3 separate regions of the Homo sapiens genome follow, and regions 2 and 3 are each linked to region 1. Evidence: promoter capture Hi-C in 16 types of primary human blood cells and fetal thymus (Javierre and others, 2016). All regions are on one chromosome and are shown on one strand. Each heading gives the region's core, a stretch centred on a gene start or on the middle of the fragment in contact. The rest is flanking DNA. Distances are from core to core; before and after follow the strand shown.

The links. Contacts are between HindIII fragments. The CHiCAGO score rates a contact against its expected background, and 5 or more counts as called.
Region 2: a contact is called between a fragment that was not itself captured here and the fragment with the promoter of CFAP90 in region 1, in 1 of 17 cell types (activated CD4 T cells). The highest score is 7.8, in activated CD4 T cells.
Region 3: a fragment that was not itself captured here is called in contact with the fragment with the promoter of CFAP90 in region 1 in 2 of 17 cell types (total CD4 T cells and naive CD4 T cells); the score reaches 8.7 in total CD4 T cells.

Annotation. Positions count from the first base shown.
Region 1 is chr5:7,849,105-7,852,888 of GRCh38, reverse strand. CFAP90 (cilia and flagella associated protein 90) reads left to right here and starts at 1,756. Exons shown (of 3, transcript NM_001089584.3): 1 at 1,756-2,014. The coding sequence starts at 1,868. It also overlaps a transcript of MTRR not described here. The HindIII fragment of the contact is 6,768 bases long and covers 1,429-3,784 here.
Region 2 is chr5:6,802,378-6,806,207 of GRCh38, reverse strand. The region is part of intron 1 of LINC02236 (long intergenic non-protein coding RNA 2236); the gene reads right to left. Among named protein-coding and RNA genes, the nearest start is that of LINC02236, 8.4 kb to the right of the region's middle. RefSeq lists an enhancer at 1,941-2,441. The HindIII fragment of the contact is 3,393 bases long and covers 1-3,220 here.
Region 3 is chr5:6,782,869-6,786,418 of GRCh38, reverse strand. No RefSeq gene overlaps it. Among named protein-coding and RNA genes, the nearest start is that of LINC02236, 11 kb to the left of the region's middle. The HindIII fragment of the contact is 5,319 bases long and covers 1-3,550 here.

The DNA.
Region 1 (3,784 bases), core at 507-3,006:
AGTACTTTCACTTTCCAAAGTATGATACTGGGTCACCAATGCAAAGCTTACAAAATCTTGTGACCATTAGTTGACCTCTCTTGTGTATTTGGAGACATTGAGAGAAGTTGAGAGAGGCAGTAGATTATAAGGGCTTAAAAAAAAAAAACATATTTGGCTGCTGCTTTAATGAGGCCAAAAAAGCAAAAAAGTATGAGTCATGCCTTTCATGACTTCAGCCCATGGGAGAAAAATAAGAGCCCCTTTTCCTTTGCTTCACATGTAGGAGAGATGGTGCTCCATCTCCAAGCACCAGGGATATGTCACCCTCTCCAAGTGGCTCCAATGAGGTTGCTAGGTCCCCTGGGGCTTAGAGACATGGTGGGCAGGTGTCTGACCCTTGACTCATGGCTGACTTGTGTTCTGCCTGGCCATGGAGCAAAAAGATGTGTTAGTGGGACAAAGAAGGCACATGGGTTTCTCAGGAAGCTCATGGGGACCCACGAGAGAGACAGATATAAATAAAAAGAGAGAGAAAAAGCGTGGTGGCACCGGGATGTCTTAAATCCTGCCCAGAAGGATCTCTAGAACTCTGGAGACCTCTACAGAGTGGATCACCAGGTGCCTCAGAATGAGAGAGGCATCTTAAGCCACCAGCCTGCATCACAGAATGGCAGACAAGAGATTCCTACCTAGTTGCAGGGATGGGGAAGAAGGCAGGGCACTGCTCCTTCCATCATCTGTAAGATCTCTCCATCAGGCCCCCACCTATCTGTTCACCTTCACTTCCTACCAGTTTCTGGCTTCATGAGGCCACACCACCCCACTTCCTGCTGCCATTCAAACACAAGATTGTCTCTGCCTCAGAGGACCAAGTTGGCTTGGAAGGGATTGCCAGACTCACAGAACTGGCTTCTCATTATCGCTATGCTTCATCTCAAACACCACCTTCTCAGCAAGGCTGGCCTTCCCAGGCACGCTGGCTAAAGCATTTCCCAAGCCTTGGTCATCATGGCTTTTTTTGTTTGTTTGTTTTTAACTTTTCTTGGCTGTACACCCACCAATCACGAGTATACAGCTTAACACATTTTCAACAAACGGAACGCAGGTATTGACCCAGCATTCAGATCAAGGGCCAACGTAAACACACTGGCAAAGGATTGCAAGAGCCCTGTCCACAGCAGCTGAGTTCTGCCAGATTCTGTAAATTCATGCAGCCTTACACCTGCACTGGCCAATACTGTAACTGCTAGCCACACGTGGCCACCGAGAGCTTGAAAGGCAGCTAGTGCCATTTGTTGAAATGATAACGTTTTGGACTTACTGAGTCAAATAAGAAACGACACACGTGGCTCTCATCATGTTTCTATTGGACAGCGCTGCCCTGGAGCCTCGGCAAGTCATTTGGCTTCTTCGCGTCTTTCATGTGTCTTCTCCAGACTGTAAGCTTCCTGTGGACAAGGCCTGCTCCGTTCAAGGCTCAATCTCCAGCTCCTGACACACCATGCGCTAGGTGCTCAGTCACTAATGGTCTCGCGAAGGAGTGATCAGTGAGTGAAGCAGGGGCTGCTGCATGGGAAAGGTGAGCGGGCTGGAAATGGGTAGTCCCCGCGGCGTCTCCCAGTCGGGCTCCTCCCGAGGAGGAAGGAAGGAGAGACCCCAGGTGTAGTCGAGGGGCCGGGAGGGAGGAGGGGAGGGTCGCTCCACCCTGGAGCGGGAATGCTGCAGGGCAGCTCCGGGTCGCCAGGCGGCGGTTTCCAGGCAACGACCGAACACAGACGCGGGCTAGACGCTGGCGCTGAGCAACCTGAGGCCTGCAGACTCCGACTGGGCCCCTGGGCGGGCGGGACGGACCGCGGCCAAGGCGGGGGCGCTGGACGGTGGCGGCATGGAGGACGACGAGGAGGAGACCACCGCGTCCACGCTGCGGGGCAAGCCCAGGCCGCCGCCCGTCTCGGCGCAGTCCGCCTTCAGCTACATCCCGCCGCGGCGCCTGGACCCCAAAGAGCACAGCTACTACTACCGCCCGGCGCGGGTGAGGACCGCGGACTGGGCGCGGAGACCGGAAGGCTGGGCGGCTGGGCGGCTGGGCGGCTGGGCGGCTGGGCGGCTGGGCGGCTGGGCAGGGGCGGGCGGCCGCGGAGGGGCGGGGGAGAAGGGATCACCCCAGCGGAAGGGTCTTGGGGCGGGGCTCTCCCTCGGAGGGAGGGCGTAGGGGCGGGGTTCACCTTAGGGAAAGGGGCCTGGGGGCGGGGCTCACCTTAGGGGCGGGGGCCTAGGGGCGGGGCTCACCTTAGGGGAGGGGGCCTGGGGGCGGGGTTACCTTAGGGGAGGCAGCCTGGGGGCGGGGTTCACCTTAGGGACTGGGGCCTTGGGGCAGGGTTCACCTTAGGGGAGGGGGCCTGGGGGCAGGGATGCGCCGCCGGGGACTGGAGAGAGGAGCTCACAACGAGGAGGGGCCCTGGGAGGGGCTGCACCGCTAGGGATCGGGGACAGAGCTCACAGAGTAGAGGGGCCCTAGAGGAGGAGCGCACCTTCGGGCAGGGACCCTGGGGGCAGGGCTTCACTACCAGGGGTGGGTTCCGAGGGGCGGGGCTGGACAGCCTGTGGAGGGGGCCGGGTGGGAGCGTGCGGAGATGAAGGGGGCGCGGCAGGGTCAGCTGGGGAGACAGGGAGGGTGAGCTCCCGCCAAGGCGCCTGGGCCCCAAAGAGTACAGCTCAGGCGACTACCAGTGTCAGCTGAACCCCTGGGACGAGGATGTGGGAGAAGCCGGGTGCGCGAATGGGTGTCTTAGCTGCGATCAGGGGCTGGGAGTCGCGGGAATGCTCAGATAGGACCCGGTGCTCTTCGGAGAAGGGAGCGGGAGCCACTAGGTGTCAGGATCCCTCAAAAGCACAGTGGCTCTGTCGGGACAGCAGGGCGCTCTTTCTGCCCAGGGTCTGGAGGGGGTCGCGGGAAGCCGGGGCCGCCCAGCGGGCTGGGCGCGGCTCCCTCTGGGGTCTGTCTGCGGCAGGCCCAGGCTAGCAAGGAAAGAAGGCCTTGCTGCCGGGACTACGCCCGGATGGTCCAGGGCGCGGGAAACCCTCTGCCCTCCTGCAAACCGAAGACCAGAAGGAATAGCTGGCGAGCCGCCTGCAGGGAGGGCTGGACTGAGAGTGGTCCCTCTGTTCTGTCCTGGCCACACCGGCCCGTGCATTTCCTGGGATGGGATCTGCGAGTCTGCGAAGGCCACTGGGCACCCTGCATCTCCCACCAGCGGCCAAAGGCAGGAAAAGTAGTAAATTCAAAGCCAGTTGAGGGTCATCTACTCCTTTCTTCTCACCATTGTTCCTAAATGTCCCCGGTTTGTCTTGCTCAAGATGCAGGGGCAGGGGAGTCATTACTGAAAAGGAGCATTCATTGAGGACCCTCAGCCTGCAGGCGTAACTGGGACAGGTCTTTCTAATTCTAGCTGTCCTGGTGGCTTGAGTGGGTAGAGAGGGATATAGATTAGCCAGGTGTCTAGGGGGAAGGAGATCGTTCCCTTATGGTGTATAAGGTGTTCCCAGAAAATGCATCCTTCCTTTCCCCACCTCCTGCCCCCACCATCCTAGACCCTAAATAAATTCCCCTTCTGACTGGGTTAGCACACACTGGCCTGCATGCCACACATAAAGTGTAAGCACTCTTGGACAGCCTCACCAACAGAAGCAATCGTGTTTCTAGTTTAGACAACTGCTGTCGGTTGAATTGTGTCCCCTTGAAATTTATGTTTTGGAGTCTTAATCCCCAGTACCTTAGAATGTGAACTTATTTGGAAATAGA
Region 2 (3,830 bases), core at 275-2,774, 1.0 Mb after region 1:
TATAAACTCAAACACAAAGTCCTTGAGATCAAACCCAACCTCCACCCAAGAGGTGACTCTCCCAGAAACTTCCTTTAAAAGTTCTAAGAATGAAATCACTTCTCTGCCAAGGTACCACCTGCTAAGACTCAAGCCTCAATAGAGTGCTATATCTCCTTGAGTTCAATGACTCTTACTTCTATTTACTCACACAAATGAACAGAGTGTTGTACCAAGCAGTACAGTGACCAGTTAAAGCCTGATGGAACACGGTGTGAAGTGGGACTTTTCCTATTCTTTAAGAATTTTGGCTAAAGCCGCAGAACTTAGGACAGGTTGATGAGTGCATCATCATTCTAGAGAGAGAGGCATTGAACACTTTGTGACCCAACTTAATAAAAACATCACAGATCTAGCCTGCTAATTAGCATCAAGCTCCATCACACATCTCCAGCGTATGTAAGAGATGACCTGGAAATGTACAAAGTGTTGCAGTGAACTAGCAGAGAAACTGGTGGCCTAATTTGGAGCGACATGTCTTTCTTCTCCTCAAACTCGCCCTTTAAAAAGTCTGGGAGGCTCCCAGGGGATCACTCTAAGAGGCTGGGACTGCCAGCAAGTTTCCATGGGCTTCCCCCTGGCTGGAGTTTGGCCGGCAGAGCTACAGAAACTCCCAAGTCCATCTTGCTGTGCCCCCTTTGTAGACCACCGTGAGACAGCTCTCAGGGGAACCTGTCCATCTCAAAAAGGACAGACATCTCAAGTCCTCTGGAAAATTGAAGGATGTTTTAGGATTTCCAGATTCCTCAAGCTGAAGCACCCACATGACACGCAATCCTGTTTCTTGGTCGTTTTGACCACACCCTATTGCACGACTTGTCTGCACTGCTATGCACAAAGCTCTGCACTCTCTCACCCATCTGGTCAAGCGCCCCTCCTGGGAAGAGGACAGAGAAAGAAGGAGGACATTGAAACCATCATACATTGGAGGGCTGGCCTATGGCTTCCCACTCAGTATTCTGCTCTCTGTGTAAAGAACCCCATTCCTTCAACTGCTCCCTCTGCAAAATGGTTTCTAATCATTCACTATCCTGTCTACTCTTACTCCCTTTTGCCAACATCACTGTTCAAGTACATTGCCCTGAAATTGCAATAATTCCACTGCCAAGTGAGACGAATAAGGGAGAATAAACACCATTTCCTTTAAATGTTCTAAAACCCAGGATTTTTACTTACTCACTAATACAGCAAGTCTGAGATTCCTAAGGTCTCACATCATCACAGAGTTAGAGACCAAGTAATTTTAGCTGAGCCAGATCTCTTCCCCTCATACATCTGACTTTTTTCTGTTTGATAAGTTGGATAACTTATGAATATAGGGAAAATGTTGACAAAAGATTAAAAGTACAAATAGATTTGCATAATTTTTCCCCAAAAAATATAACTAAATCATAATAGTAATTAAAGTCTTGGCTTTCTTGTGTGTTTTTAATCCTTACCAATTTAAGTATTTTTCCAGAACAATTTCATTGTCTCCAAAAATAGTCCTTCACAAGACAAAAAAAATTAGCTAATAAATTCTTGCATGTAAAATGGCTCTGCATCTTATAAATATTTCACAAACATTTGCCAGTTTATTTGTTTTTCTAAATGGTTTCTTATTATTTCTTTGTTTAAAAGGTCCTGGGCCACGAATATATCATGTCCGGGGACTGCAAGATAACAAACGATTTTTTTTCTCTAATCACATTGTTCTTTACAATTTGATTTACTTCACTGTATAAATTCATTTTCTTGGCATGAGAACAGCTGTCTCATGGCTGTTGGGGGCAAAGCTGGAACTCTCAGGCAAACAGCCAGGCTCTCCCGTCTGGCCTGGTGTCACCACCATCCCTTAGGGCCTCTGCCTGAGACAACCCCCAACTGAAGGGCAAGCAACATCCCAGCCTTGTTTGTATCTGCAGGAGGATTCACAAGAGGGCTGACTCTTAGGAGGCTGAGATGACCATTTGCACTGGTGGATCCTCAGAGAGGGCATGGAGCAGCAGGGATGGGTCCTATGGAGGTGGAACAGGAAGCCAGGGTTCCGGCTCTTCCCAGCTTTGCCCACCAGCTGCAGCAGAGTGTCATCACAGTTGCTTTTGGTTTTCAATCCCCATCCCAGGACCTTACTGTGAGTCCAAGCTCCCGGCCCCTTCCTTTCTTTCCCTGTAGGTTCTCTCTGTGTTGCGCAGTTCTTGCAGTTATTTCAGGAAACTTGAAACCCCTAGCCTCTTAGTGAGCACACACACTCTCAGACCTTCAGCCCTTACGCTGTCACAATTTATAGTTAAGACCTATGTGGACCTGAAACCTTAACTGTCATCTGTGAAGTCCTCTTTGATACTGTTCCCTCACACTGGCAATGCTCTTGGGGGCACCCTAACACCTGGTTTTTCTAAAGTAACTCTAAGTTTAGCCACTATGGTGCCCTTCACTGCAAGGAAGACAGGGTCTCTATCACCAAATAGTGACAATCAAGTACATACGATAACGTTTATTTAAAGTGTAATATACTCTAAGTGTGTGTATTCGTTCAATTACACTAGTAGGAAATGTAGCAGCTAGCATTAGTGAGTACTCAGTGTACTCAAAGTGCTTTGTACACATTAATCAAATAAATGCAGTGACTTGTTTTATCCTCACAAAATGCACTGACATTGCTTTCAAGATCTAGTCCATTTTGCAGATGAGAAAAGTTAACTTGCCCTAGGTCCAGTGAGTGAAAGCAGATAACGGAGATTTGGGCCTAGGGAGGCTAGGTCCAGAGCCCATACTCATAACAAACACGTCACCCTCTCTAAACTGTACCACCCGTGAGTACAGTAACAGCTCATTCAGAACAACTAATATTCTCACGTGTTTCAGGAGCGCAAATGTAGGAGAACTCACTTCCAACTGAGGTAATCAGGGAATTTTAAGATGCGGGTTCAGTTACACCAAGACAAATATGACAGAAGTAGAGAAATAATTCCCATCTGAGGAGACTGTGCAAGCACAGAGGTAGCTTCCCAGCTGCCCTCCACCTAGTGCATCCCATTAGCACCCATCCTGACCTTTTTCTACTCTCTCAGGGGAATCGGAGCTTCCCTCATTTCCAAAACAGGAGCCACTTCACTGTACCTGCTGTAGCGACCACACACCATCAAATGGGACTTGTCCCACTCCAACTGTCTTCTTCTCCTCCATCCTAAAAGAAGCTTCTACTCTCTTCCTCTTCTCTTCACTGACCACCTTCCTGAAAATGATGAGTTACATGTTCTCCTGGATTACTTAAGTAATCAAACAAAGCTTTCATTTGCCTGTGACACAGGTAATGAGAGCAGCTCTTCTTGACGTATAATTGAAACAGAAAAACCCTTTTTAAATTTTTTTAACTGTTAAGTTCAGGGGTACAAGTGCAGGTTTGTTACGTAGGTAAACTTATGTCATGGGGGTTTGTTGTACAGATTATTTCCTTACCTAGGTATTAAGCCTAGTTCCCATTAGTTATTTGTCCTGATCCTCTCCCTCCTCCCACCCTCTGCCCTCCTCTGCTAGACCCCAGTGTGTGTTGTTCCTGCCATGTGTCCATGTGTTCTCATCATTTAGCTCCCACTTATAAGTGAGAAGATGCAGTATTTGGTTTTCTGTTCCTGCGTTAGTTTGCTAAGGATAATGGCCTCCAGCTCCAACCATGTCCTTACAAAGGACATGATCTCATTCTTTTTTATGGTTGCATAGTATTCCATGGTGTATATGTACCACATTTTCTTTATCCAGTCTATCAGTGGAACCCAGAATCAAAAGTGGCATATGCTGGTGCCTCAATG
Region 3 (3,550 bases), core at 153-2,652, 1.1 Mb after region 1:
CATTATAGCAGGAAGGACTTGAGTCAGAGGGCAGAGAGATGTGGTCAGAGGTGTCCCCTTCATCCACCCTAGCTATGCCACTGGAAGTGCGCAGGGCCATAGAGGGAGGGAGAGTGGCAGGACTGCGTGACCTGGGGGGATCTTTGACCTTGACACTTCATTGCTCCATGGCTGCAGGCAACCTTACAGCTGGCTCTTACTTTCTCGATTGTTCCAAAGCATCCGTCTCACTGCTCAGCCCCTTCTTTGCAGTGTTTTAAATCTGCTACTTTCCACCTGATGCAGGAATTTGAATTATCATCTGCAATTTATGCTGCAAACAAGGAATGATTTGTAACTCTCTTTACTTTTTTTAAGACCACAGCAAGTGGCAGGAAGCCACAGTGAAAACTCCCATGAGGCGTCTCCAGGAAAGACCAAGTGACCTTTGTGGGCATAACTGTGAGGCCCTTCAAACCTCACATTAGAGACACACACTCACAATACATGCCACAAGCACACTCACATACACCTTACACACTACATACACAACACACACACACACAGCCCACTACACGCACATTATACACACAATACACACCAGACACTACACATACACACACAACACACACACACATTACATACATACACACACAATATGCCACACACACATTCACACCCTGCATATACAATACACACCACACACATACATACACACCATACTACACACATGCACATATGCTGATACACACAATACATAGCACGCACCACACATAAACAACTACATACACAATACAAACCATACGTAACACACACATATACACAATACACACCATACTACACACATGCACACATGCTCATGCACACAATATAGAGCACACAGCACACATAAACACACTACAAACACAATACACACCACGCACACAACATACCTCACATATACACATCCACCCAACACACACACACACACACACACATCATGCTCCACCCTCATTCAGCCCTCCCCAGGGAGCCCATCCTCTCCCTTGGTCAAGGGTTGGAGGAGCAGCAGGTTAGGGCTTGCAAAGGGAAAAGGAAGTATAGGTCATGGGGGACCCCCGGCCTCCCTTCACCTGCTTGCCCCCACCAATCTGGTTTTCTAAGCTGCCCTATTTCTAAGCTGCCGTATCACAAGCCAGCTCACTTTCATGCAGCTGCTATGTAGGCAAATTGTACGTAGATTTCATTCCTTCTAACTTCATTCATGCTAAACACTGCACACACTGGGTGCTTTATTTCATCTTCCTGCCTTTACCACCACAAGTCAGATGGGCCAAGCAGTCATTCTTTGAAACAGAAGGGTTTCCCTGAATAATGTGTCGCACCTGTCTCATCTTTCAATTTACTATGTTAACTTAAGAACCCACTTGCAAATGGTCAAAGATAATGCACATTAAACCAGTATTTGCTACTTTTGAGTTACCTGGGATGCTTGTTAAAAATAAAGAGCTCTGAGCTTTGCCCCCAGACTCCAGCATCATAATCTTTAGGATCAAACGAGTGAAACCACGTTTTTAGAAAACATTCCAGGGGATTCTTAGCACTCAGAAGAGGTGGAGCAGCCCAGCCTTAAACCCTGACTCCGATGATTGCACGTCACGTCCATTGCATCTATTGCGATGCACGGGAGCTCGTCCCTCCCTAGCTTCCAGCTGTCCTGGGTCAGTAGATTTGCCCTCTCAGCCTGGCTCCCTCCTTCTCTAAAGGGACTGGCAACAGTGGACTGTCTTCCGCTTCTTAGCTCATCTGAAACCTTAGCCAGACACAGCCACCAACTTGAGTGCTTCCAGATTCCAGAAGAGCTGGAAGCAACAGCCCCAATGTGATCTCCATTCTGCCTCCACATTCCTCTTTTGGAGGAAACCTGGACCTCCCTGCTCACAGGGCCCTGGTTCTCTCCACTGCTCCCTCCTCCCCTGAGGCCCAGGTAGCCACAGCACAGTTGGCCAGCCTGGGGGAGCATTTCATTCCAGCTCTTTCCCAGGGACAAGCAATTTCTGGCTGCTTGTGCCATTCACTCTGCCACTTTGTGCAACACTCTTCACTGTATGGACACGCGTGATGTTCTGAGTTCAGACCGTGTATTAATCAGGATTCTCCAGAGAAACAGAATCAATAGGATATATTACATACATAGGAGGAAGAGAGTTTGAGAGAGAGAAAAATTTTTTATGGGAATTGGCTCATGTGATTCTGGGGGCCCAGAAGTCAGACTGTCTGCCATCTACAAGCCAGGGAACCAGGAAAGCTGGTGATGTGATTCAGTCTCTGAGTCCAAAGGCCTGAGAAGTGAGGTAGGGGAAAGGGAGGGAGCCAGGAGGTCTGATACCAGAGGGCAGGAGAAGATGGATGTTCCAGCTCCAGCAGAGAATGAACTCCCCCTTTCTCAGCCTTTTTTTCTACTTGGGCCCTCTGTGAATTGCACAATGCCTGCCCACATGGGGGAAGGGAATCTTCATTTGGCTACAGATTGCAATGCTAATCTCTTCCAGAAATACCCTTGCAGACACATCCAGAATACTGTCTTACCAGCTATCTGGGCATTCGTTGCCCCAGTCAGGTTAACATATAAAATGAACCACTGCGACTGCCTCTTAAAAATCTACACAACTGTCTTTAGAAAATAGCACTTAAACAAGGTGTCATATTTTAAACACTGGCTATGAACAGTGTGCTAGACAAGATATATACATATTTCTGTTTTTTGTTTTTTGTTTTTTTAAGACAGTCTCACTCTGTTGCCCAGGCTGGAGTGCAATGGCGTGATCTCGGCTCACTGCAACCTCTGCCTCCTGGGTTCAAGCAATTCTCCTGCCTCCCAAGTAGCTGGGATTACAGGCACCTGCCACCATGCCCGGCTAATTTTGTATTTTTAGTAGAGACAGGGTTTCACCATGTTGGTCAGGCTGGTCTCGAACTCCTGACCTCAGACAATCCACCCGCCTCGACCTCCCAAAGCACTGGGATTACAGGTGTGAGCCACAGCACCCAGCCAAGATCAATATCTTTAAAACCATTAACTTTCCTATGCATCCGAAAGAACCAATTAGAAATGCATAGAAAAATCTCATATATAATAAAAAAACTATAATAAACCGAGAAAGAAACTTAACAAGAAATGTTCAAGATTACAGAGAAAACTATAAAACCTTACTGACAAACTCATTTAAAAGACCTGACTATGTTGTGGGATTTATTGTATTCAAAAATGAAAAGATTCAGCAGTGCAAAGATTTTAATGGAACTAGACAAGCTGAGTCTCAGAGTAATATGGAAGAGGAACTATGTAACAATAGTCAGAACCTTTAAAGGAAAAGAATGAAGAGGGATGGTTGTGCACCCTACCAGACTTCCTAAAAGGTACAGGGACGTGCCAATTCAGGAAGGGGCGACACCATCCGTGGAGAGATAAAGCCTAGAAACTCATTTATTTGTTCATTCAAGAATAAATAACGATTGTTAAATTGACCCGCTACTATGGTTTTGGCATTGGAAGTTTGGCATTGGCAAGTTAAATCCCTACCAGTACAGC